Linked DNA regions of Homo sapiens: region 2 is linked to region 1. The links are contacts of gene promoters, found by promoter capture Hi-C in blood cells and fetal thymus (Javierre and others, 2016). All regions are on one chromosome and are shown on one strand. The core of a region is centred on a gene start or on the middle of the fragment in contact, and the rest is flanking DNA. Distances in the headings are between cores, read along the strand shown.

The links. Contacts are between HindIII fragments. The CHiCAGO score rates a contact against its expected background, and 5 or more counts as called.
Region 2: a contact is called between a fragment that was not itself captured here and the fragment with the promoter of MAST4-AS1 in region 1, in 3 of 17 cell types (megakaryocytes, endothelial precursors and activated CD4 T cells). The highest score is 6.8, in megakaryocytes.

What each region holds. Positions count from the first base shown.
Region 1 is chr5:67,000,874-67,007,715 of GRCh38, reverse strand. MAST4-AS1 (MAST4 antisense RNA 1) reads left to right here and starts at 3,562. Exons shown (of 2, transcript NR_111908.1): 1 at 3,562-3,872; 2 at 5,667-6,098. The region is part of intron 4 of MAST4 (microtubule associated serine/threonine kinase family member 4); the gene reads right to left. RefSeq lists a silencer at 3,345-3,684. The HindIII fragment of the contact is 7,419 bases long and covers 1-6,712 here.
Region 2 is chr5:67,135,649-67,141,944 of GRCh38, reverse strand. It overlaps MAST4 (microtubule associated serine/threonine kinase family member 4), which reads right to left. Exons shown (of 29, transcript NM_001164664.2): 19 at 5,281-5,382. Among named protein-coding and RNA genes, the nearest start is that of CD180, 58 kb to the left of the region's middle. The HindIII fragment of the contact is 165 bases long and covers 4,841-5,005 here.

The sequences.
Region 1 (6,842 bases), core at 2,313-4,812:
CCATAATAAAGGTTTAAGGTAAGAGTCTGAAACCATTCAAGCTCTCGTTTAAGTGTGACAAACATTCTATCCTTATGAGTTCTAAGATGCTCATTCATAGGCTCAAAGCTGAATTTTACTTTGATAGATGCAAGAAGCTGATATTAAAGAAAAAGCTAAGATAAAGTCCTCCAGATTACAATGTTAATCAGAACAAACAGATGGGATAAAATATTCAAAATGAACAATCTGTCACACAAGTCAGCAAGTGTGCAGGAGAGGAACTAAGTTTGGGAATGAGAGATATCTCAAGGGTTAAGGCATATCTGACTGATGATGACAGCAAGGTGTCCTCACCTGGACACTGGGGACACCCTTATCGAGGATGGCAAAACAGAACAACTTGCGAACAGAAAGGTCCTTTGGAAAGGAGAAAAACTACTCAGCCCGGTAAGGTACAGCATTAGACTTGGAAAAGGAAACAGGATTTAGAACAGTTAAGGGGCATCTCAAAAGTAGAAGTCACAATGTAAGCACATGTTTCATGTCCTTAGGGAAGGACATGGAGCCAGAATTGATCACTGTATAATAACAGGATGCAATAGCCACATACATTGCCCTGGAGATGAGGATACCTAGCCTTCTGAATCTACATAATAAATATAAAGCAATGCTAGCCCTTTGAGACAGACAATGACTCGATGGATGTAGAGATGATCTTTGGGATGTTTATTTCCAAACTGCAAAACCTGAAAATCTCCAGCAACAAACAGGCTGTCATAACCTTTACTCTTAAAAGGGGGAGAAGAAAATCCCCTTCCCTCTCTATTTTGCCAAATTGAAGATACGGTTTCATGACTTGGGGTGGAAACAGCCCACCCAATGCTCTCCCATTTTACTGGGAAGAATTCAGGTTTCCTTAGAATCTAGGCTCTCTGTCAGTGTGAGCTGTCTGAATTGGAGTGTTCAGGCTGGACAGGTACTGCCCTAAAGCCAGGCTCAGAGCAGCCTGAGAATCCTCCTGCATCTGACTCTCTCCAATAATACTATCAACAGGTAGGTAGGAAGAAGAAAGGCTCCAACTGCTCTACGGGTTCAGACACACACATACGATGCCAGAACAGACTTCTCTCCCTAAGAACTGGTTCCAGGTAAGAGTAGAGGCTGTACCGCAGCCAGGACTACACAACTCAGAAATATTTAAGGGATTCTGTCCAGCTGAAATGGTAAGAAATCATACGAATTATCACCATGTTGAGCAGTGGCCTAGTTCATGTGTAGCATGTATCTCTCTTCAACTTTATTAGTTGTCTTGGAGGTTTGGTGCATGGTTGACACAACTTGATGAGCAATACTACAAAATGAGCAATACTACAAGAGAGGGTCTCTGACCATATATGGCAGAACGAGAAAAACATAGTCACATTACTTAAAAGGTACAACTTCAGAATCCAACATAGTTTAGTGGTATCAACACTTCAAACTGCATCAAAAAGCAAATATGACTTTGAAACCTGCCAGATGTCTCTCTCATACACACAGGTGCACATGTGATTTGTGTGTGCACCCATGTATATAAACAGTGTATGTGAGTATTCCAGGATGTTTCTGAAATGTAAGAAACCATGAAAAACTTCAAAAGGAAAAACTAAGTTTTCTAAAGTATCACATATCCACATTTATACTACAAAAAGTTACAGGTATAACCAAAAAGAACGAACCATTTTCTTGGGTTCTTTGAACACTGAAGCATAGAGATTGTGAAGCTCCAAATCTGAGAGCCTGCATCCTGTTTATCTGACTGCAAAGTTGCTCTCATGCATGTTCACATGTACATGCAAGGCAAGTTTTGAAGGAAAACAAAGAATCAGTATTAACACAACTCAAAAGGTGTGCCCCTCTAAAAGTACAACAATCTTACTTTTCTGTGCTGGACACAAATGTGGTGAGAAATGCCTCCTTCAAAGTCATAGTCTCTCAACACAAGTGTCAGCAAACTCTTGGAACTGCCTGTCACTTGTGGCATGAGCTTCATCTTGACATTAAAATTCTTTTTCTTTCCCCATCTTTTCTATCAAATATACGTTACAAAATGAAAAGGACACTCCTGTATTAGTAATAAATGCCAGCAAACCATTGAAAAATCAAAATGACAAAGTTATGTAGATCTGCCTCTCCACAGATAGTATGAAATAGCTAACCTGGGCTATCCTTGCATCGTACATCTGCATCTTATAAAGGTCAAATATTTAATAGAGAGGAACATCTGAAGGGCTCAACGAAAAGTACCAGAAGCCTCAATGACTGGGTGAATGAAATGGATAAACATGATCAGGTCAAAGGGACAGACTTAGACAAAGTATCTCCTCCTCTTTCCCTTTTTCTCCCCCACCTCTCACAAGGAAATGTCTTATTATCCACATTTCAAAAGGAGAAAACCTATGAGAAGCACATTTATCAGGGTTACCCAGGAAACCACAAGGACGAAGAAATACCTGAAACAGTACCCCCTCCCCTAGCGGGGCATAAACTTTTCAAAGTGTCACCCAATACACAAAACCCCAGCTCCTGAGGGGCTCAGGCAGCTCCGCCTGTGGGCCCCTGGGAAGTGAAAGCATTCCCTCTCCAGGCAGAGATCCCCGCGTTTTTACCTTTGTGTTCGCCGAAGCCTGTTCCCACTCCTCAAATGAGGCAAAGTAAAGTTTGAGAGCACAGTCCAAAAATTGGGGTCAGACATATCCATTTCTTTCTCTCTTCAATTCACTGTGGGTTCAAGGCCATATGACTAAAATGGGGAGAGGTAAAAAAAAGGAAGAAAGACAAGGCCAAAAATAAAAAAAAAATCCCAATTATCTACTCACTCCCTCCAGAGAAAATGTGATGGGAACTGTGATCTCAAGAACAACTTGGAGCATGTCTGAGAAGTACCCGTCCCGTCCTAGCCTTTAATTAACACACAGCCTCCTCTCAAAGGTCCGGGAAACTGATTTCCTCTCGGGTCTGCCCTCTCCTAGTCAGGCTCGGCCAGCTATAAACAGTAATTACATGAGTTGAGCCGTGCGTTCTGCTCAAAGCGCTGTCTGTGGGATTCAGTCGGAGGTACTTTGTCATCTGTTTGGCAGATACCACTCGCCGCTTCTGCGAGGGGCGGGGGAGACGACTATTTTGAGGCTTTGGTTCCGGAGGCTGTTGCTTATCAGCAAAACCATTCACATCCGAACATGCCCAGTGCCGAGTTTCCTTTTGGTATCTACATACAAGGAAAAGAATTTGAATAGAAAAAGCTGCTCTTGCCCTCCCCTCCTGAAAAAAGCGGAAACTTAAAAGCACTTTTAAAAAATGGGCCTATTGGAGGACTTGAACCTGACACCTTTGTGGACCCTTCCAGGGTCCGGCTGGGAGGAGGCGGCAGGGCCTTGTCCCTGGACAGCTTGGTGGCCGCGCCCCCAGCTTTCCTGCATCCCCCACCCCCCACCAGCCCCGGCCGCGCCTGAGGAGCGGGGGCTCACGGGAAAGGGAGCAGGCGGCCGCGGCGCGACCCCAGCCGGTGCCGGGACAGCCCCGCAGCCTGGGCCGCCGCTCCCCCTCCCCGGAGCCCGGAATGGATCCGTCCCGGAAATAAATAAATAAACCCGCGGCTGCTCCGGGTGTGTGCTGCGCGCACCTGAGGCCGACCTGTGATTCACCGCGGGAGGGATGGCAGTGACAACGCTCCGGGGAAGTCCACAGTGACTCCTCCGCCAGGACGCCGCTGGTTGTATAGGAAAAGCACGCGGACGGGAAGCCACACTCACCGAAAACCTCAGTAAACTAAATTTATGAGTTTACATCTGTTCCATCAATGACCACGGTGCACACCTGTTTGGCTTCATGGCCGGCAACTACAGATCTAGGTAATGGTGAGCCCCGATGTGGAAAGACACTACCTGGCATTTATGTGGCAAATGCTACAAGTATTGCCCCTTCAAGTACGTTAGACCTTGAAAGGGCAGAATGAAGGGGGCTGAATGTTCTTGTTATTCATTTTGAAGAAAGGCATGGTATTTAAATATCTCCCCCTATCCATGAATGTTTGTATAAAGTACATAAAGAAAAAATATAATTTAAATTAGCTGCCTTAAGTCTGGTGTAATATGGCAAGAAATACTAAATCAAAAAAGTATATATTCAGCAAAAAATACATCTAAAAATGGCTTAGTCCATGCAGTAAATACCAGGAACAAACTCGCTTACAAAAATGGGAGGATAAAGAGAAGGAAGAGGGGGTGTAAGCTGACAAGGTAGGCGGGGTAAACAAAAAGAAGCCTGCTGTGGGATCTTCTTTATCTAATTCTTGTGGCCCACATTAATATTTTCACACCAAGGACTCCAAGAGTTTTGGATGATGTTTCATGTCCAAGGCTTTCGTATGCGTTATCTCCTCACATTCTTACAGAGCCTCCACAGATCCTTGCAACCCACAGAGGTAGACAAAGAAGGCATTATTTTCTCAATTTTACATTTGGGACTTTATCCCAAACATTCAGGGACACTAAATGACAAAACACACTTCAATAGATATTAATGAGCTTGGTCCAGCATTTTTGCCCCATGCTCTTCTTTTAAAAAATGTTTCTAAGTATTGCAAAAGATGTTTTGAAGGCTGACACAAAAGAGTGTCCCTGTGCTCCGGAGCAGTTTCTAGACCTCAGCACTGTTGACATAGGCTGGATAATTCTTTGTCTGAGGAGCTTTCTTGAGCATTGGAGGATGTTTAGCAACATTGCTGACCTCGACCTACTAGATGCCAGTGCTGACAATTAAAAATGTCTGAGGACATTGCCAAATGTCCCTTGGGAGGTAAAATCACCCCTGGTTGGGAACCACTGCTCCAGATAAAGGCTTCTCTGAGAGGGGTGATACAGAGCACTGGTTTAGAGCAAAAATTTTGGGTCTGAATTCTGGATACAACACTTACTATGACCTTAAATCTCTTCTCATTTTCCCCAGCTGCAATATGGGGTCCATAATAGGACCAACCTGTAAGAGGCTGATATACATAAATGAAGAGGAGATGGCATACATAAGCCCTTTCACGCAATGTCTACACACACACTGCGCATAAATGTAGGCAGTATACAGAAGCTAAGAGAATACTATGCTGACAGACATAAGACTGGAGCAGAGGACACCCCACAATGTGCTTCTTTCTACTCTCTAGAGTCTTCAACCAGGCTGCTGATCACACTGTGTATAATTGACTGTTTACTGCTGTCTTTCCAATTAGTCTGAGTTCCTCAAGGCTAAAGTCACATTTTACTGATCTTCATATTTTCAGAACCTGACAGCTCCTCAGTTTATATAGGCATTTAATATTAGTAAATCCTTTTTGAATGGATACTTCAGAAGCCCAAGTATCTCTTATTTCTCTTAAGATGCACTGAAACTATTAGTACTAGTAGATCTGTATTCTCAAAGAATACTGAATTTTTGAGAATCCCATGAAGACGGTAAATTCTGAAGACTTTCTCTTAGTGACTTATTTGTATCTATATCATGTAGCTGGAAAGATATCAGTGCTAACATTCCTCAGGTCTTTACATGGCTCTAAGAAATGTCACAATCAAACTCAAGGGGAATTCCCTTTGAGTCCCATGTCCCCTCCTCAAAGGCAAGCCCAGAGAATAACTTTTTGTGCTCACTTGTAGGTATCCAAGATCAAGAGGGACAATTACATATTATAAGCCGCACAGAGAAGAGTAATCAAGGTGGACATGAACTTGTGCTATATAAGTTATGGGTTGAAGAACTCTGTGGAAAGTAGAGAAGAAAAAATTTAGGGAACAAGCAGTAGTTGAATACAGCTATGTGAAACTATGAGAACTATGTGAAAGAGTGTTTGGATCCAAAGATGAAAGAGCTGACACAAGAGTGGATTTTCTGAGAGCTGTTTGAGCAGAGAAAACTTGAAGGAGATACAGTGAGTAGAACACAACCTGTAGGTGGTTTGAAGACCTGAGGACTCCAATACCTCCCAACTCTCATATTCTCTATAGTTTTTCTAGAAAAGCCCATGTATTGGGGCATAACCTATAAAGATGATAGCAACTAAAATGGATAAATCAATGACATAAAATGTTTATTTCTTCTCTTGATTAAATGACAGATACCCCAATCTGCAGGCATCATATGTTATGACTGCCTCCACTCTCTGCATTTTGAGAAAGCCTCTACAGAAATTCTCAAAGGAATGGGTAAAGACATGAGTATTTTTAACTACATATACTTTAAATTTATTTTTTTTTTTTGCATTTAAAAGGCTTGAGAGGATTTGGGTTGTATCCAAACTGAAAAAATAAAAATAGGTTAAGTACATGAGGAACCAGAATGAATTAATATAGTGAGCGAAAGTGGATTGTACATTCCCACACTCATGAAGATAAGAGTACAGATGACACTGAAGTGTGAGTTGTCTTCTAACCTGTTTGACTTGATTTGGTTACATATGATTCAGAAGGCAGAGCAGTCGGTAAACACAAGAATTAAAATTGTCAAAACTACTGACATTTTCCTACAAAATAATTATATGGGCAGAAACTATAGTTGCGACTGCAGTAAAACTCAACTGCAGAACAAAGAGGGAACTGAGATTACTGGAAATTCTTAAGACTATAGCTGGTCTAGGTCAATATAGAGATATTCAGCAGGATTTTCTATTGTGTAACAACTAAGCCTATACAACAATGGACAAGCTTTGTGGTTCAGAACTTTCATTCATTTAATCAGGATGACATTGTTAGCCATTGGTTTTGTAAGGTAAATGAAACTAAAAAACAAGCTTGTCATCCTACTGAAATGCAAGCTTAGGAAGAAATAAGTATTTA
Region 2 (6,296 bases), core at 3,674-6,173, 130 kb before region 1:
TTTATCAGTAGGAGATTTGATGTTGCTAACAGCAGTTGCTATGGCACTGTTTTTCTTTGTTAGTTTTTTTCCATGACTTCCTCCATTTTTCAAAGGTTAATGATGTGGCCACTTAAAATCACAGTATGCTGAACCTGGAGATGTAGATAAATATTGGCCCACAGCAGACTCACTCATTAAAAACCCAGAGAAATTCTAACAAGGTGCAAAATGTGTTCACAGCAACATTTCCTCTGGAGGTAAAGTGAATATTGATAAATTTTTCCTAAATATTATTTATAGGGGTTACCATTCAATTTTAGTGGATTGCTCATTAACATAGATAAGAATTAGATTCTGTGGATTACAGATTTGTAAGTAGGAAACTGACAAATCTGTTTTATAGACTTTTAATGTCTCCAAAATATCCATCACCATTTCCAAGTTTCAGGCTTCTTTTTCCAAGTCAGCATGAAAGCATAATTCAGTGAAATGTTTTCAATTCAGTTTATAATTTTAAAGAGCGATTTTAAAGGACAGGTCATCAAAAATATGAACACCATACCCCATATAAAGAGAAAAAGGTACATGTTATAATATCATAGCGTAAGAATCAGATCCCCGCCCTGCCACCAGCACACATATTGTTGAAGAGAGAGATAACAAAGAATCAATCCTGAAAAAACTCTAAGAAGAGAGATTTCTGAGAAGCTACTACAGGGACTAATCAGCCTCCCTGCCAAAAGATCTCTGCTAGGTGCAAGTAAATGCCTCTTTCTTGTAGTTGTCACCCAGGCCTCTCATCCTGTCCTCTGTGGAGTCCAAAAAGAATAGGATGAGAAATGCCAAGCTGAATGCAAAATGGGCTGTGAATCTTGGTTGGGGGTTGCTGTCTGTGGATCAAAGATTGGACTCTGTCCTCATTGGACCCCTCTAGCACAAGACATAGTGTCAGCCCTAGCTCTAAACCCAGCCAGGGCAAATTGGTGTTCTGAAAATGATGGAATGGAGTGAAAACAGCAAAGTGAGGAAACTACCCAAAAAGGGGGGAAATGGATTCTTCTTTATAAAACACTTAATTAGAATCTTTACCCCATATTCTATCCAAGTGGTTTCCACATTTCTAGCAAAATACTGAAGTCTGACTGTAAGCATGAGCAGCTATGACTGAGGGCCAACTTGTGACAAGTATTGCACTAGATACTACAGGACAGATGTCTTGTTTCCTTTAATTAAATCATCAAATATAACCACATGAAGTGGGCATTACAACACCTTTTGTGGATGTGGAAATGAAGCATAAGCAATAAAGCACCGTGGACCACGATCCCCCAGAGGGTAAAGATTCAAGGCTGAACCTAGGCCTGCCTAAAAACACCCAAGCCCAACCTCAGTGCCACATATAAGGCAGAGGCATGCTTTAATTTGTTCCTACTCCACCACCTCTCTTGCATCGCTTTGCAAACAGATTCAGAACTGCCAATACTGGGGACCTGAGCCTAAGAGCCAACTCACGTGGCTGTTCTATAGCACCTCTGGAGAGCCTCACTCCAGCCCACCATGCATCCTTGCTCTCACCTATCCCTAATCAATGTCCGTATGCACAACTGCCCATCTTATTTTCTTCTAGTGCTCTTTTACTTGGAGAAACAGAATACGAAAGCTAAGAGGGCTTAACTGTTTCCCTATCCAACATGGAGGTCGTCAGCACGGTGCGGGTGTTGGGTAGGGAAAGCCCTAGTTAGTGGCCCACAACACACATCTCTGGACTCCTAGTGCAGTGATGGTTCCACTAGACTACAATGACTATCACTTCAGCTGCTGCTCATGGGGCCACATCAATGGCCCAGCCCTCACATTTTGGGTTGCTCGATTTTATCAGAAAAGCAGTTTCTCTAGGGCCAAGAGCTCAACCAGACTGCAGCCAGTGTCAGGGGTTTTACCCCCTGCCTGCTATCCTCTGGGACCCAAGCTGCTGAGAGCCTTCATTTCATCTCTGCAGACAATGACAAATGGGTCCTCCTCAAGGATTTACAGCCCATAGCTGATTTAGCTCACATTTCTCACCCTTTGGCCTTTGTGCCTCACTTACGAGAAGCTGGTATCAGTGGGTCCAGTTTCTCAGGCACTTATGGAGAGATAAGGAAGAAAAGAAAGGGACAAATTGGGGGAAAATGACCTCTGGACTAAACTTTTGGTAAAATACGGGTGATAGCATCGTGAGCTAAAAATAAATCACTCATGCAAATGATAGTTCTCATTGTAAGAATTCATTATGAAGGTAAAAGAAACATTATACCTTGAGCTCCTGTTAGATACTTAGTAAATGAACTAGATACCTTAATGAACATTTTTGCATTTACTCCTCACAATAATCCTGTGAAGTATATAAAATGCCCATTTCCATAGACTAGGAAACTGAGACTCAGGACAATGAAGAAACTATTCAAGATATGGGTAGCAGTGACATCTGAGCAGCTCTGAAGTCCAGGGAGTCAGGCTGCCACTCAATATTCTACAAGTTCAAAAGTGTAGTTCCAGTAGCACAAGCTCCCAAATTGCAAGTTATGCTTTGACACTAACACTTTCCCTTTTCTCTCCTTTCATGGAAGTTTCTTAAACATCCATTATGTTCTTCACACCCTTTTTCTCAGCCTCTCTAATCTCTTGGGCAAATGTGCATTCGCACATTTTCACGGTGCATTATTTTGCCCACTAAATATGCATTAAATACAAAACGCTGTCATTGGAAGCAGCACGGCAGGCCTGCGGGATTCTCAGCCTCAGTCTCTGGGCCCTACTGGGACCTGTCATGTTGGACTGGCCTGTTTGGCAAGCACTTGACAATTCTAAGAGCTTGGGTAGGGTCTTTTAAATGTCTCTTCTGGATTTCTGTTAGGGGATTTGTTCTTCAAACTGTCAAACCCTAAAAAGACTGAAAGTAGCAATCAACAAGAAAATGTGCAGAGAAGTAACTTGCAGCCTATGATTTATAAACACAGAGATGCTGATCATTATCACATCCTTGTCTAGTTAAATCAAGCCCAACCAAGGATCCAAGTTTTCCTGGAGGAGTAAATACAGGACAGAATACAGGCTGAACATCCTTAGTCTGAACATTTAAAATCCGAAATGCTCCAAAATCTGAAATTTTTTGAGCACTGATATGACACCACAAGTGGAAAATTCCACACCTGACCTCAGGTAACAGGGATTAAAACATATATGATGGGGCCAGGCACAATGGCTCATGTCTGTAATCCCAGCACTTTGGGAGGCCGAGGTGGGTGGATCACTTGAGGCCAGGAGTTCAAGACCAGCCTGGCCAACATGGCAAAATCCCATCTCTACTAAAAATACAAAAAGTAGCCAGGCGTGGTGGCATGCTCTTGTGGCCCCAGCTACTCGGGAGGCTGAGGCATGAGAATCGCTTGAACCTGGGAGGCGGAGGTTGCAATGGACCAAGATCGCACCACTGCACTCCAGCCTGGGTGACAGAGTGAGATGCCATCTCTAAACAAACAAACAAACCACCCCACCCACCCACCAACCAAAAACCAAACAAAAAACACATATTATGGGCTTATTGAAGGACTAGGGCAGTACGCATTCATAACAGAATAAAAAATCATGTCAGTTTATGAACTTAGAAAATAATTCTAAGATAAAACTTGTTAATGAGGCAGATGACTCTGGAGGAAATGTTTTAAAAAGCCATCCAGCAGAATGCCTCCTCTTCCCTAGAATGATTTGTTTTTATCCTTATAATAATCCTATGAGGTAGCACTTCGGAAAGCTCCTTTTCACAAATGAGGAGATGAGCAATGCAAAAAGAAGTAACCTGTCCAGGGTCATACAGCCGAGATTTAAACTCAGCCTAGCTGACTGTGGAGTTTATGCTCTCAACCTCAATTTATATTGGCTTTTCAGGTTAAAAGTCCACTCAACCACTGAAAAAGGTAAAAAAGACACAAGGTGCTCTAGTGAGAGGCTCAACTAAAAGAAGTTGTCTAGTCAAGCCCTAATATTAAGCCTTCTTGGATTCTCTAATGCAGGGTCTGGAAAGCTTTTGTGTAAAGGGCAAAACAGTAAACATTTCAGTCTTTGCAGGGCATGCGGTCTGTCATGACTACCTAACTCTGCCCTTGTAGCATGAAAGCAGCCATACAATACCTAAATGAGTGGACATGGAGGTGTTTCAGTAACGCTTTATTTACCATACCAGGCTGTGGGACAAATCTGGCCATAGCTTGCTGACCCTTGCTGTAATGCATTATCATAAACTCTAGTAGCACAGCATTCGTCTATACTTAGGTAAGAACAGGTCCTCCAACAGGAGAATCGGTGGGTGAATGTGGAGAATACTATACAATAAATATTTGGAACTGTTTCAAATTTTTGTCTTGGAAAAAAATGGGGGAGAAAATGATTTCTTCAGTATTTTCTGTTATTTCTATTAAAATGGGGGTAGAATGAAACAGCCCAGAGTAAACAACCCATCAAGCCAGCACTTTTCACTGATGAAAATTATGGCTGCTGGCTAGACTATATGCATTTATATTTAATATTTAGTCTCATCTACATAAATTCACATACTTGGGCAGACTGGGACTCTATACTGGGATTGCTAAGTCTGTCTATTCAGAATACAGAGAAGAAAAGGGAATAAAATACTGGCAGAACAGTCAGAAAAAATAATCAGCAAGAAACAAATCTACTATCTCGTTAATCCTGAAAGACAGTGGTTTTTAATTCTCTTTCTTGGGTCACGGTGCTGATCACTGTGACAGGACAGCATGGTTCAACCCCAGACACTCATTTCTAGTAATTAGTCCAAGTACTGATAACCCATTTCAAAGCTTGTGTATAGTAACGTGCTGGGTCAAATCCGTATGGGGATGTATATTTAAAGACAAAAACAAAAAGAGTTCCAAATATCGAATCCTCTGTTTCAAGTTATTTAAGATGCATGCTTTTCGGGATAGAAGAGTTACATGTGCCTTTGAGGTTTTCTTCCAGAGAAGCTTTATTTATTGAAACAAATTAAGCATAATTTCTGCTTTGCCAAACACAAAAACAACAAAAAACAAAGACAAACAACCAACCCTCTTAGCGTACACACTGTTTTGAATCAGAAAACAAAATCCAAAATATTATTGCTATAATGTGTTGCAGTCATGTTCTACATCAACTAACAGATGTTGCCTATGCAAAAAGCAAAACAACAACAAAAGCTTCAGAGTGCTCCATGTAGACATTATTTCTTGCATATTAGCAAAATTAAAACACATGGGCTCTAACCTGTTCCCAGCCTCTCCAGGGGATTCTGCCTGAGGAGTAAGGTAATCAGATCCTGGGCATCAGGTGGGGGTGCCTCATCCTTCTCAGGCCAGTTGATCTCATCTAGAAGGAAGAAAAGTTGTTTATAACCATATTGTTCACAAGAGGGTCCAGGTCCCAGCAACATGGACATCACCTGGGAATTTGTCAGAAAGGCAGAATTTCAGGCCCACTCCGGACCTACTAAATCAGAGTCTGCCTTTCAACAAGATCTTCAGTCGATTCCTAAACACAGTCATGTTTGAGAAGCATTATTTTACAAGACATAAGTAGCATAGATTTTTTACAAGGTAGGAAGAGAATATTTCAATAAGCAGATCTTTAATTTGCTTTTTAAATGTATTTTTCTTTCAAAGAATTGGCTTCCAAAAAGTTGCCTCTCTAGTTATTAAAAGACTTAAAATAATAGAAACTCTAAACACTTCCATTTCAGGTGGCTAATATATCCATCCAGGGATTATCTCAGGTTCAGATTTTTCTCTCTTAATTTCCTCAACTGAGAATTTGGCCACAGCCATAGAGTTCTTCAGCTCTAAGAAGCAAGAAGTAATTTTGTAAAAATAACTATTTCCAGAAACAAACAAACAAACAAACAAACAAACAGGTCAAAGTGCTAAGACTGAAGAAGAAAAAAAAACCCAAAGTAATCATAGTAATGGAAGTATTTAAAATCTGTCATAAATATTAAGAATACTTTCTCATTCTGAAGGAGTTTGCCTGAAGATAGGTGTGCGTGCTTGTGTGTACGGAAATGCAATAAAAACATGAGTTATTTCTGTGTGTGCCTGCCTCTAGCTTCCTCTGCTGCAGTTTAAATCTGATTTGGAAAATAAAACATGAATATGCATCTGAGCCGTAAGGCATCAAGAACAAAGCCAGCATTTGCTGCTTGTGTTAATTAAACAGTTGATTCCCTTTGCCATTCAGGCCTTAGTATATCAGAAAACAGCCTAGTTATAAATCCATAAACAGCTCAG